3 separate regions of the Homo sapiens genome follow, and regions 2 and 3 are each linked to region 1. The links are contacts of gene promoters, found by promoter capture Hi-C in human tissues and cell types (Jung and others, 2019). All regions are on one chromosome and are shown on one strand. The core of a region is centred on a gene start or on the middle of the fragment in contact, and the rest is flanking DNA. Distances in the headings are between cores, read along the strand shown.

What was found. The method cuts DNA at HindIII sites, captures the fragments that hold promoters and counts their contacts. A contact is called where the count stands out against the background at its distance.
Region 2: a contact is called between the fragment with the promoter of PPIA here and the fragment with the promoter of POLM in region 1, in 1 of the 25 tissues and cell types used here (spleen).
Region 3: a contact is called between the fragment with the promoter of ZMIZ2 here and the fragment with the promoter of POLM in region 1, in 3 of the 25 tissues and cell types used here (adrenal gland, heart left ventricle and spleen).

What each region holds. Positions count from the first base shown.
Region 1 is chr7:44,081,280-44,085,875 of GRCh38, forward strand. POLM (DNA polymerase mu) reads right to left here and starts at 1,251. Exons shown (of 11, transcript NM_013284.4): 1 at 972-1,251. The coding sequence starts at 1,159. RefSeq lists an enhancer at 1,025-1,525 and a silencer at 1,237-1,816. The HindIII fragment of the contact is 16,372 bases long and covers 1-4,596 here.
Region 2 is chr7:44,794,513-44,799,108 of GRCh38, forward strand. It overlaps PPIA (peptidylprolyl isomerase A), which reads left to right and starts at 2,169. Exons shown (of 5, transcript NM_021130.5): 1 at 2,169-2,281. The coding sequence starts at 2,213. LOC105375259 (a long non-coding RNA gene) reads right to left here and starts at 2,018. Exons shown (of 2, transcript XR_007060300.1): 1 at 1,556-2,018; 2 at 604-912. RefSeq lists silencers at 1,710-1,909, 2,000-2,269, 2,290-2,639. The HindIII fragment of the contact is 11,905 bases long and covers 1-4,596 here.
Region 3 is chr7:44,746,602-44,751,197 of GRCh38, forward strand. ZMIZ2 (zinc finger MIZ-type containing 2) reads left to right here and starts at 2,246. Exons shown (of 19, transcript NM_031449.4): 1 at 2,246-2,390. RefSeq lists silencers at 1,741-2,270, 2,381-2,490, 2,501-2,550 and an enhancer at 4,331-4,596. The HindIII fragment of the contact is 31,122 bases long and covers 1-4,596 here.

The DNA of each region.
Region 1 (4,596 bases), core at 1-2,500:
CTGCCTGCCACATACTTGTTTGGCTCTTGGGCAAGCCACGTGTCTATACTTTGATTTCCTCTTCTGTAAAGCAGAGATAACATATCCACCCTGTGGGGTTGTTGTACAAAGATAGTGCCTTGTACACTCTAAGCTGCTATCATCCTCTCCTGAGTGGGTCTGGCGCACTACTGATCCCTGGTAATGTTAAAAAATCAAACACAACTGTGGGGGAATACTAGCCCCAGGTTCGTTTGCTCTCTCAACCTCCAAACTAGGGGGCACCCCCAGCTCCCTTACTCTGGGTGTTGTCTCTGTAGCCGCCATTTTTTCTTCTCTTGGTTCCCTTCCTACAAGAGCTTCTCAGTCGTGTTATTTACTCAGGCCTGAGGACAGAGGAGCCTGCGGGCTCCGGGCCTCTTGAGAAGTCAGTCTCGCTCACAGGTGGGACATAGCCCAGGCAGAAGGGCTGTTAGCAAATACGACTTTTTTTTTTTTTTTTTTTGAGACAGAGTCTCACTCTGTCGCCCAGGCTGGAGTGCAGTGGCGCGATCTCGGCTCACTGCAAGCTCCGCCTCCCAGGTTCATGCCATTCTCCTGCCTCAGCCTCCCGAGTAGCTGGGACTACAGGTGCCCGCCACCACCTCCGGTTAATTTTTTGTATTTTTAGTAGAGACGGGGTTTCACCGTGTTAGCCAGGATGGTCTCGATCTCCTGACCTCGTGATCTGCCCGCCTCGGCCTCCCAAAGTGCTGGGATTACAGGCGTGAGCCACCGCGCCCGGCCTACTGCTTATTAATTACCCCTGACCTCTGGTTTTGATTCTCGCAGTGATCCTTTAAAACACGCCTCGCCCTAATTAATAGCACCCTTTACAGAAGAGGAGATGGAGGCTCAGGGAAAGGTCACAAGACCACGAAGTGCCACTGCAAACTTAGAATCCAAAACCAGAAGTGCCATGGAAGCCCTCGCCGCGCCGCGCCGCCCCGCACCTGCAGGCGTCAAGGACGCGGAAGCCTTTGGAGCGCGCCAGGCCTGTGAGGAAGGCCCGGCGGCTGCGACCCATGCGAGGCTCGACCAGGTAGATGGCGACTCCCGGGAAGCGCGTCGAGGGCGGCGTGGAGGAAGCGGCATCGCCGCTAGGGGACCCGACCCGCGCTCGCCGCCGTTTGGGGAGCATTGGGACGACAGCCTCCAGCAGCGCGGAGCGAACGCAGAGGGAAACTCCGAGCGAGACGGAAGGAAGCCCCAGTGAGGCTGACGGAAGCGGGTGGGCGGGCGGGCGGCCGCCGGCTGGAAGAGGACGTGGCCCCGCCCTATGCAAATGAGGCCTCTCCGTGGGGCTCGCTACTTGGGCCAGTCGGAGCGCTGGGGAGGGTCCGGGCTCCTACAGGATTGGGTGTCCCGGCCGCTCCGGAAGACCCGCCTCCATGCAAATAACGGCAGAGGACCCGCCTTTTATTTAAATTAATGTCTCGGAAAGCGCTGTTCGGCCCCATTGGCCTCCGGGAGGAGAGGCTGGGCTGGAGCGGGGCGGGGAGGGTGTTGGAGGGGGTGGAGGAGGCGGGGTCAAGGGGGCGTCCCCGGCTAGGGAGGGTGAACTGGGACCTAGGCCCGGGCGGAGCGGGGTGGGCTGTGTCCTTGGCGCCGGGGCTGGGTCTAGGGTTGAGCCGGCGGCTCGGGGCGGACGCGTGCGGGCTGTGCCCGATCCCTCTGCGCTCGGGACTGTCACACGGAAGCCGGCGGGCGCAGGACCGACACGCGGGTTTCCAATGCGCTGGTGGGGCGGTCGCTTCAAACACGCGGGAAGATTTTTCAGTCGAATGGCATTAGGACAACTGGCAGGCCATTTGGAAAAATAGAAGTTGGTGCCCTTCCTCATTCCTTAACACCAAAATAAATTCCAGATGGGTCAAACATTTCCATCTAAAAAGGAAACCAACAACGTACTGGAAAAAAGTCGGTGAATGTTTTTATGATCTAAATATCACAATAAACTTGGAAACACTAAAGGAAAAGAATGATAAACTGGACTACAGACAAATTTTAAATCTGATTAAAAATTAGAGTCAGAAGATAAACTGGGATAAAGTGTGAGATATTTTGGAATTAAGATTATCTCATGATAATCTTATCAAATTGTCCATAGATAAAAAGACAATAATTTAATAGAAAAATTAGCAAAAAAACTCACGTAGATGATTCTTAGAAGAAATCCTGGTCAATAAATTTATGACCAGAGTGCCCAACCTGTCCAGTCGTTACAGAATACCTAAATGAGAATATCTTCAGTTGTGGGTTTATCAAACATTCAAAAAAATTGACCACACATGTTGAAGGTGCGAGGTAATTGGCAATCCATAGGAAGGACTGTGGAAGCCAATGTGGCAACCACATCCAACAAAATGAAAACAAAATAATACACATTGATCCAGCAATTCCTTTCCCAAGATTGGGATTGCATTGAATCTATAGATCAAGCTGGGGAAATCTGATGTCTTGATAATATCAAGTCTTCTGTCTATCTTATTTAGATATACTCCATTTGTAACCTCTGTTACGGTAGTGTGGCACTGCTCAGCCTAACTGATGGGACACCAGATCAGATGCAACCCCCTTCCACATGCCTCTCCTCATCACTGCCCCATCGTCCTCAGTCTTGAGCCCCAGACTCCTTGAGCACCTATCCTTTTTCTTTGGCTCCTCTCTGACATCTTTAGTGGGCTGGCTCTTCCCCATCTCTGCACTCAGAGCACAGGGCTGAGGGGAGTGGGGGAGATGGCTCAGCCCAGGCATCCTCTTGACCTCCTACACCATCTCCCAGCCTCCTAATTCATCTACCTCTTCAGGGCTGTAGAGCTTCCTGGGCCTCAGGACCCACATACAGAAGCCAGGAGGCCTGCGTATGGTCCCTCTCTCCCCATCCTCCCCTTGTGCCAGCAGGGATGGGCAGGCTCTAAGGGTCTTCGTCTGTGGATCTGGCTCCTACCCTTCTCAAGGAGGAGGCTCTGCCCAAATATCCCCTGAGCAGATCCCTCTAGCTGTCTAAAACCATTTCTGTTCCTTTTAATGTCCTCTGTCTGGCCAGAGCACCTGGGCTCCCCTTGGAGCCCTTGTTCTCTCCTGGGAAGGCAGAGGCAGTTTTTAAGACTATGAGACCTGAATACTTAAAACACTGGGCAACTGTGCAAAAATGTTTGTGCAAGGAATCTCATCCAAATGACAGTGGAAGAAACTGCCTAGCTTAGAAATCAGCCAGGCCCTCTGAGTGGTTGCTGCAAAGTGTCTGCTAGGACAACATGGGGCTGAAGGATTCATGAAGATTGGCCAGTGGGGGCAAGAAGGGGTGAGGAGGTGGGGAGAGAGAGGGACTTGCCTGCTCTGCAGGACGAAGATGTGCCCTATACCCAGGGAGAGGTGGCCTGCCGTGGAGGTGAAACCACCTTTGCAGAATTGTAAGTCATGAGAGAAATCTAACATGACTGCCTCCCTCTTGCATCTAACCTCACAGACTAAATTGGTTTTCTTATTTCTTTTTTTTTCTTCTTCTTCTTGTAGTGCAGAGGCCAACATAACTATGAGAGGAATTTAGTTCATAGTTAAAGGCAAGAAAAACTGACCCCCTCCTTGTTTGGAGATTGAAACCACATTCATAAGACAAGGTTAGAATTGTGGTGGGGCCTGAACTTTGCTAAAGAATGGGCATAAACAGCGACCTGCCGTTTCTCACTTGGCTTGCTTTTCTATAATGCTTACTGCCCTGGAGTCACATAGCCGGAAATCTCAAGATTTCTAACTTCTCCAGCTGCTCATATAGAGGCCGGGCACAGTGGCTCACACCTGTAATTCCAGCACTTTCGGAGGCCAAGGCGGGTGGATCACTGGAGGTCAGGAGTTCGAGACCAGCCTGGCCAACATGGTGAAACTCTATCTCCCTAAAAATACAAAAAAATTAGCTGGGAGTGGTGACACATGCCTGTAATCCCAGCTACTCAGGAGGCTGAGGCAGGAGAATTGCTTGAAGCTGGGAGGTGGAGTTTGCAGTGAGCTGAGATCATGCCACTGCACTCCAGCCTGGGAGACAGAGCAAGACTCCGTCTCAAAAAAAAAAAAAAAAAATCACTATTATGAAACCTAAAGAACTTTGAGATATTTTCTAGATTTAGAATTTTAGCAGACCAAGAGACACTACCTGGACCTGTGACCCACACCAAGAAACTGACTCAGCTGCTTGAAGATAGTTTTGATACCTCTGTGATTTCATCCACTGCCAATCAGTTGTCTCAGCTCCCTAGTCCCCTGCTTGCTGAAGCACCCTTAAAAACACTAGCCTCTGAATTCTGGGGGAGGTGGTTTTGAGAATTATCTTTCATCCTCCTTGCTTGTCTGGCCCTGCAATTACAAAACTTTCTCTGCTGCAACAGTGCCCCCACTGGAGAACATGGTGAGGGGGTGTCCCTGCTGGAGGATGGTTGGGGAGGGGGTCCCTGCTTGAGGATGTGGGAGGTATACCTGCTGGAGGAGGGGTGAGGGAGGGTGTCCCACTGGAAGATGGGGGTGGGGCGCAGTGGGGAGCCATACTAGGGCCAAGAATATCCCCAGGACTGGAGGTAGCTT
Region 2 (4,596 bases), core at 919-3,418, 710 kb after region 1:
CCACTGCACTCCAGACTAACCAACAGAGTGAGACCCTATCTCAAATAAATAAATTCCTAACACGTTGGCTCATGGTTATTAACAATGGCAAGAGGCCAGAAACTGTACTTCATCTATCAGATGAATTATCATTTTTGTCTCACCACAACCCTATCCTGGTTGTGCAGATGAAGAAACTGAGTTTTAGAAACATTAAACAACGTCCAGGTGCAGCAGCTCACGCCTATAATCCCAGCACTTTTGGGAGGCTGAGGCGGGTGGATCGCTTGAGTCCAGGAGTTTGAGACCAGCCTGGGCGATGTGGCGAAACCCCATCTTTACAAAACACACACACACAAAATGAGCTGGGTGTGGGTGCATGCCTGTAGTCCCAGCTACTTGGGAGGCTAAGGTGGGACGCTTGCTCGAGCACGGGAAGGGGAGGTTGCAGTGAGCCGATAACACACCACTGCACTTCCAGCCTAGGTGAGAGTGAGACCTTGTCTCAAAAAAACAAAAAGAAACATTAAATAATATCCTTAATATTGCAACTTAAGTGACAGCCCAGGATATATGAATTCCCTTGTAAGGTTTTCTTAACAAAACACCAGTCACATAAGTGCATTTTATTTTATATTTTTGTTTATTTATTTGAGACGGAGTCTCTGTCTCTCAGGCTGGAGTGCAGTGGCGCCATCTCTGCTCGCTGCAACCTCCACCTCCTGGGTTCCAGCGATTCTCCTGCCTCAGCCTCCCGAGGGGGTAGCTGGGACTACAGGTGCGCACCACCATGCCCAGCTAATTTTGTATTTTTCGTAGAGATGGGGTTTCACCATGTTGTCCAGGCTGGTCTTGAACTCCTGACCTCAGGTGATCCTCCCGCCTCGGCCTCCCAAAGTGCTGGAATTACAGGCGTGATCCACCGCACCCGGCCTATTTTTTGAGAGAGGGTCACACTCTGTCGTCCCGGCTGGAATGCAGTGATGCGATCACCGCCCACTACAGCCTCGACCTCCGGGCTCAAGCAATCCTCCCCGCCCAGCCTCCTGAGTAGCGAGCGCCTCGACGCCCAGCTAATTTTTATTTTTATTTATTTTTTTGTAGAGACGGCGTCTCTCTAAGATGCCCAGGCTGGTGGCCGGTGTCGAACTCCTAAGATGAAGCGATCCTCCCCGGCCTTGGCCTCCGCGCCTCCTAAAGCGCCAGGTATGAGCCACCGCGCCTGGCCTACAAGTGCATTTTAATTAAAGTATTATTAATGTCTTTGCCTGAAGAAATTCGCTTTTAAATTGTGACTTATCTTTCACCCAAAAATCAAAGCACAATTCAGCCCCGAGGCGGGGGCGGTAGGAGCTGGGCGGGGCGGGGGCAGGGAAAGACCAGGAGCAGAGATTCAAAAAGAGTAAGAGGGCAAAATGTGCATAATGCATCTTCACAGGTAAGAGCCTGGCCAGGCTCCTGTTTTAATGGCTTCCTCCTGAAGAAGATTCAAGCAGAGTGTAAGATATTTTCGGAAAGTAGAGCATTTTGAAAGCATTTCATAATCTCTCAAAACCGGAGACTGCTCCTGTCCCACCTCGTTAGAGAAAACAGCGATGCTCAAAGGCAACCTCCTTCCTGACATTGCCTGGTAGGACGCGACGTGGTGTTTGCCCGCGCGGAATGCGGACGCAAGGCTGCTCCTAGGTCTCGGGGACGCGCCATCCCCATTTCCGCTCGCGGAGGCGTAGGGTCCGGGCGCGGGACCCCAGTCGACCTTGACTGGCGGCGCGACCTTGAGGCCTGCGTTCGCCTCAGTTGCCCCCTCTGTGCAATGGGGAGACGCGCCTCATCGCTTGACAACGGCCGAAGAGCCGCCGCGCTTCCGTCTCCCGCGTGCGCGCGCCATGCTGCCCACCCCCGTTCCGCACTGACCCTCCCCCGTGCCCCGCGTCCCGTACTGCCGCCCCGCCCCGAGTCCCATGCCGCAGCCACCGCGACGGAGCCCGCAGGCGGGAACCTGCCTCCGCGCGTTAGCGCGCACGCGCGCCTCATGTGTCGTCCCCATCAGCGCCGGCTTCCGTCTATAGGCCAGATGCACTGTCACTCTGGCGAAGTCGCAGACCCGATTGGCCGGGACGGAGGCGCGAGACCGGGTTGCGGGCGGGGCCGAACGTGGTATAAAAGGGGCGGGAGGCCAGGCTCGTGCCGTTTTGCAGACGCCACCGCCGAGGAAAACCGTGTACTATTAGCCATGGTCAACCCCACCGTGTTCTTCGACATTGCCGTCGACGGCGAGCCCTTGGGCCGCGTCTCCTTTGAGGTCGGGCGGGCGGCGGCGTGCGGGAATGGGGCCCAGAAAGTGGGCCGGGGTCGGGGTGGGTGGTAGCGCCCCAAAGGCCCGGGCGCGGGGCGACCCTGCTTGAGGGGCGAGCGCGGGCGGGCTGCGGCGCCATTTCCTGACGAGGGGCCATTTTGGGAGGTCCGCGAGTCGCGGGGAGGAGGCCGGGACGGCGGCGGACAAAGGCAGGCGGGGCGGCTGCGAGGCCGTTGGGGGAGGGGGCCCGCGTCCGCCCGCCCGCCTCATGTGGCCGCGCCCTGTCCTGTCCGACGCACGTGCTCGGCGGCCGCGCTCAGGTCCGCGCCTTGAGAGTCGTTGGGCTCCGCCCTAGCTTGGCCTGGGCGCCGCAGACCGGAGCCAGAAGCACGCTCGCGGGGGCTTGCGACCGCCTTCCTGGGAAGCTGTCCCCTGGCAGGCATGGGTGCTTTACATCCTGAGCTGGGAAGCTGTTTGCTTGAGGGTTTTTCTCAAGGATCGAGGCGCGGTGTGAGCCCGTCCATGCTCGGTCCTGTAGATCCCGGGAGGCCATGTTATAAAAGGAGACTTGCTGGGATGTGACGGGTTGCCACTTGAAATATCTTCCATTTGGATAAAGTAGGAATATTTATACATGTGCCCCAAACGTCCCTCCGTGTCCCCCACCCCCAAGCGGAAATGTGAAAATGGGCCTTGCCTTTGCTGGTGCCCAAGGACCGCCTTCCACTGCAGTGACGGCGCTGGCGGGGGAGGCGCTCTTGAGCCCCTCCCGATTGTCCCTCTGCCTAGCAAGCAAGTTGCGACTGGCCACAAGGCAGGCCTCTTCCGACCAAGGTGGATTACCAGTGATTACCTAATTAGTTTTGAGAGCGTTAAATGAGTTCTTAAAGATCAGTTGTAATTATAGCATAGTATCTAAACTTGGCGCGTGTCTTCAAAGTTAAATATTGAGTACGATTCCGTTCCAGTTAACATGGATAGACCTTAGGGAGTAGCGAAATAGGATGTTAGTGGTTTTATTCCTTTAAATCACATCTCAAAAGGCCACCAATGGCTAGTTTGGGATCTTATTCCGAAAATAGATTGATCCTCATGCAGTCTTCGTGAGGACAGAGCGATTTCCTTGTTGCCTACCCTGTCCATAGTGCCTGGCACATAGGCACTGAAACACTGCATGTTAATCCACACCCCACCCCACCTATGAGTGTAGTCAAAGCTGGTAAGTGACAAGGGCTTTCGTGGAAACTTGGCCTGACCTAATGTTGGGCATCAGGTTACCCAAAGAGCTTCAGGGAAATGAGAAAGGACTTGCAGGTCTTGATGAGAATGGAGGGGTAACTGCCAATGAGGGCTTTGGCTTTAGCGAAAGTCTGAAAGGGAAGCCATAGGAACTTAAACGTACCGACTATAAAGCTCTGAGAAAAGCTGATGTTTTAGAAAGACCATACATTCTAGGTACAAATACCTAAAAACTAAAAAATAAGTACGTTGGCCAGGCGGGCGGATCACGAAGTCAGGAGATTGAGACCGTCCTGGCCAACATGGTGAAACCCCACCTCTATTAAAAATACAAAAATTAGCTGGGCGTGGTGGCGCTTGCCTGTAATCTCAGCTACTCTAGAGGCTGAGGCAGGAGAATCGCTTGAACCCCGGAGGCGGAGGCTGCAGTGAGCCGAGATCGTGCCACTGCACTCCAGCCTGGTGACAGTGAGACTCTTGTCTCAAAAAAAAAAAAGTACATTGCTATAAGAGAAGTGCACACGGATACTAGTAGTTAATTCAGTCACATCTGTGAAATAGCTTATAAAATGCTACTTTTAAACAAGCTGTTTTTATGAAAGGGCTTGTAAATGTTTATGGTATTTAAGCTACCTCTCTAGCCATAACGTATTATACATTCAAGAAAGGTTCAAAACCAGATATACTAGAAACCAATCTTTATTTTTTACCCCACTACTAGGTAAGGGGCCTGGATACCAAGAAGTGACTGCTCATCTAATCCATAAAGCTATGTTAACAGATTGGAGGTAGTAGCATTTTCATTACAAGTGACTAAAAGAACAGCTGTTTACCCCTGATCGTGCAGCAGTGCTTGCTGTTCCTTAGAATTTTGCCTTGTAAGTTCTAGCTCAAGTTGGGGGGTGGTGATAGACATTTAAGAAGCCATATATCTTTTCAGAAGTAGGTGTGATGTACTAAAAGTTTGAGACACTTTCTAGAAGTCTCACTATTTAAGTTATGACTAGTATTGGATTTTTGGCATGTCTTTGGGTTTCATGTTTCTTAACCCAACTGCCTGCAGGGCCTTATGGCTGTCAGGA
Region 3 (4,596 bases), core at 996-3,495, 670 kb after region 1:
CAGGTGGCCTTTCCCAGGGGAGCAGGGCAGGAATTATTGAAGCAGTTAGGAGGTGAGAGAGATGCCTGCCCTGGGGGCACCTGGGATGCTTGGCGTGGCCACTTCCAGCATCCTCCACAAACCTGCCTGCAACTCCCCCATACATGCAGCCTCTTCCGAGACAGAGGAATGGTCAGGGTCCCCTGGTGCCTGCCTCCCCCTTCATTTGGGTCTCTTCTTCAGGGCCAGCTCCACAGAGAATCCGTCCCTCATACCTCATCACTCCCTCCCCATTCTCTGGCCCTGATTTAGTTTTCTTCCTAACACTCTTTCTGACAGACACACTGTTACCTGTTAACTCATTTCCTTCTGTTTGTCCCCTCTAACATGCTTGCTGTATGGATGGAGGGGCCTTATTCTCCTGGTTCCTGGGGACAGACCAGTGTTCACAGACCCCAGACCAGGGACTGTTGTACAGCAGGCCTGCCATATTTGTTCAATGAACGAATGATTCCCAAAAGAAATAGAGCACAGAGTTCAGAGGCGGCCTTCAGGGAAGAAATTTCAACAATGTCAAAAATTAATTGTGGAGTATCCATTGATAGATGAATGGATAACTTAAATGTGGAATATGCATACAATGGAATATTATTCAGCCATAAGAAAGAAGGGGCTGGGCGCCGTGGCTCACGCCTGTAATCCCAACACTTTGGGAGGCCCAGGCAGGCGGATCACGAGGTCAGGAGATCGATTCCATCCTGGCCAACATGATGAACCCCGTCTCTACTAAAACACACACACAAAAAAATTAGCCAGGCGTGGTGGCGTGCCCCTGTAGTCTCAGCTACTCAGGAGGCTGAGGCAGGGGAATCGCTTGAACCTGGGAGGTGGAGGTTGCAGTGAGCCGAGATTGCACCACTGCACTCCAGCCTGGCGACAGAGTGAGACTCCGTCAAAAAAAAGAAGGGAAGGGAAGGGGAGGGAAGAAGGAAGGAAAGAAGGAAGGAAAGAAAGAAAGAAAGAAAGAGAGAGAGAAAGGAAAGAAAGAAAGAAAGAAAGAAAGAAAGAAAGAAAGAAAGAAAGAAAGAAATTCTGACACATGCCACAACATGGATGGAAGTGAGGACACTGTGCTAACTAAAGTAAGACTGTCACAAAAAGACATATAATGTATGATTCCACTTATACGATGTCCTTAGAGTAGTCTAATTTAGAGACGAATAGTGAATGCCAAAGGCTAGGAGGAGGAAAGAATGGGGAGCTAGTGTTTACTGGGTATGGAGTTTCCATTTGAGAAGATGAAAAAGTCCTGGAGACGGTTGGTGGTTGCACAAGAATGTGAATGTACTTGGTGCCACAGAACTACACTTGGAAACAGTTAAGATGGTAAGTTTTACGTTATGTGTATTTTACCACAATTAAGAAAAATTAATTATGGGTAGTTGAGAGAATGTGGTCTTCCTCAACTTACGGTAGGAAAAGTCAAGAATAACTTAAAGGCTGATAATAGCATTTCAAAGATCGAAACTGATCAGAGAGGCTATTCCATCAGGCTAGACTAGCTCAATAGTGACTTTTTCCAGAAGGAGAACCACTGGGAAGAGAGAACTGAGCAGTGAGGACAGCGAACTTGTTAAGTTTAGTTTTCTGCTTTAACGAGGGGCTTCCGGAGTCCTTTAATAAGATCCCCTCCCAAAAGTGGCACCCTGGGTCTCTCTGTCTCCCAGTCGTGTCCCCGCCCGCCGGGCCAGAGCAATGGACTCCCAGGAAGCAGGGGGGGCGCGGGCGGGGCGCGGGCGGGGCGGGTGGGGGAAGGGCAAGGACTCACTCTTCCTTTCCTCCTCCGCCGGGGCCCGCCCCGAGCCCTGGCCCCACCCCGGCTCTCTGGATCCGCCTCCTCCTCCCGACCCCGCCCCGGCACCTTGGCCCCGCCTTCCACTCGGCCCCGCCCCGGCGTCCTGGCCCCGCCTCCGCCGCCCGGCCCCGCCCCGCTCCCGGCGGACTGCGAGCAGGAAGAGCGCAGTGGCTCTGCCGACGCCGCGTTCAGAAAGGTGTGGAGGGGGCTGGGGGCGCAGGTCGCGATCAGGCTGCGTCTCCTGCCCGCCCAGCCACCTGCGGCCCTGGCCCCACCCTGCCGCTTTGGGCCGCTCGGGCTCGCGGCCGCCCCCGCCCCGAGCGCCGGCTCGGGGCTCTGCTGCTCTGGCCTGGGAGGCGGGGCCGGCTGCGCGGCGTCATGCATATGCATGAGCGGCGCGGCGGCGGCTCCATTGTGCCCTCGGAGCGGGCGGCGGCGCGATGGCGCGGGTGGCGGCGGCCCCGGGGCGGCGGGCGGCGCGGAGGGCGGGCTGAGCGCATGGAGCGGCGCGGGCCGGGGGCCGCCACGGCGAGGGGCCGGGCCAGGCCGGGCGGAGGTGAGCGGGGTCCTGGGGGTGGCCCCTGGCAACGCCGCCAGCAGGCAGGTGTGGGCCGGCGGGGGCAGGCAGGTGCGGCAGGTGCGGGCCGGCAGGTGCGGGCGGGCAGGCAGGTGTAGCTGGTCGCCCGGGGCGCCCCGGTTCCGCTGCGGCGCCACGGTAGGGTTCACAGCTGGGCTGGGGCTAGAGGCTCTGCCGCCCACCTGCCGGCACCTGCCACGCGTGCGTCGTGGTCTTGGGCAGGCTCGGCCCCGTGGGCGTCAGGGTCATCCAGCCCTCCCCTGAGTCTTTGTTGGAGGCTGGCCGAGGGGTGTAAGCGGCGCTCGGGGTTCTCCTGAGCGATGAAGGCTGGCCGGGCCTTCGCTCCAACCTGATCGTTCCTAGCTTTGGGGCCAGGCAGTCTCACCTACATGGTACGCCCCTCCGCTCCTACTTACGTGCCCACCAGCACGGCGATGTGGGGGCCGTCTGAGGCCGTCACCTGCTCGCGGAGGAGCTGTTCCGCTCCTGGGCTGAACGACGCTGAGCGGCCAGCCCCCAGCTGCCAGTTTTGATGGGGACACCCCTTTCCAAACTGGACATACTGAAGCTCAGGCGTGAGGATGCCCTGCTCCCCTGAGGTGCCTTGTCTTCCCTAGTGCCAGGTGTCCTTCACCGCGGCACCCCCACCCGGTGCCTTGTTTACCCCTCCACCTACCGTGTCTCTCCTCCCATTCCCTGGACCCTCTGCCCTGCAGTGTTCTGCCTCTCCTTCTCCCTAGGGTACCCTCTTTCCAGTATTACAGAACATCCATGGTGGTGTCTTTAATTTGTGTCATCGCAGATTTCACAGGGACACACACGGAACATGTGACTTGGTCTGAGACCGTGGTGATTACGGATAGGATGGACACAGACTCACCACCAAGTTCTGGCAAGCTAGAACCAGAGGGCATCCCTTGATGCTTAGTGTGGAAACAGGAGAAGTGAAGGAATCTTAACTTCCAGAGGTACTGACCTCTAGCCCTTGTCATGCCCAGGGGATAGTTACAAGCTGGAAGTGTAAATGAAGAGAACAAGCAGGTGACAGTTGCCGGTTGTAGATTTCTGAAGGACAGGCCTAAGATGTTTGGGGAGCATCCTGATTATTGGGATTGAGCTCCCAAGGGCTGATGACATGAAGGTGGTCATGTGTCCTCAGTCCTAGGATGCTACCAGATATCCATCTTACACATTGTAAACTGATGCCAGGTTAAGGTTGTCCCTTCAGCTGTTCACTGAAATGTCTCATGCCTGGGCCATTGCTTATTCCTGGACTTTTTGATGAACTCTGCATCCTGACTTAGCCCCACGCTTAGACATTTTAGTACTGTGGCCTTACAGGTAGAGGGGGCAGGACTTTCAGCTACCTGTATATGTGAGTACCCCACTTTTTGCTACCAAGGACCCCGCTCCTGCAACATTCCACAGCCATCATTTCTTCAATACCCTTTGACTCCATTGTCACCTGGGTTGGATCCTGACCCTGCAATCTTGGAGACAGTGAGTCCTGATGTGTGACCTATTGAGAAGCGTTGCCTGCCACAGGGCCCACTTGCTGGTCCTGCTCCTAGCTGACTAGGCAGGCAGAGAGGTGGCATGGAACAAGGCTCAGGAGGTCAACCAGGAGACTTGGGGGTGCAGCTACTCTGGGACATTTGGGGAAGAGAGGTCTGGGGTAGTGAGTTCTGTAACTCTGTCTAGAGGAAGATGTGATCTGACCCCCGAGAAAGCCTTGTGGCCCTCTAGACTGACCTTGTCCATCTCTCAAGGGGTCCTAGCTTCCAGCTGGAGTTAGTTTACAAGGAAAGCGCCAGGCACTAAGACCCTTGGTGGGCATGGGCCTTGCATGATCTGGGATCCAGATTCCAGGCTCCAGGCTTGTTCCCAACCCAGACTCAAAGCCAGGAGATGAGAAGAGGATCTGCACACACACAACGCAGAACACTATCCTATCATCAGGGGCACAGGGTCAAGGATACCAGACCTGGAGACTGGAAGTCTTTTCAGAGAGACTGTCCTCAGAGAGGAGACCAGAGGCATGAGTTCGGGTCGGCAGGAAATCCCCCTGTGCAGTGAAGAGTAAGCTCAGAGGGAACTGGAAATCTTTGTGGTCTCTGTCCACAGCAGAGAACCATCAGGGGTGGAATTCCCCAGGCTCATGTGACATAGGAGCCTGCTGTGGGCT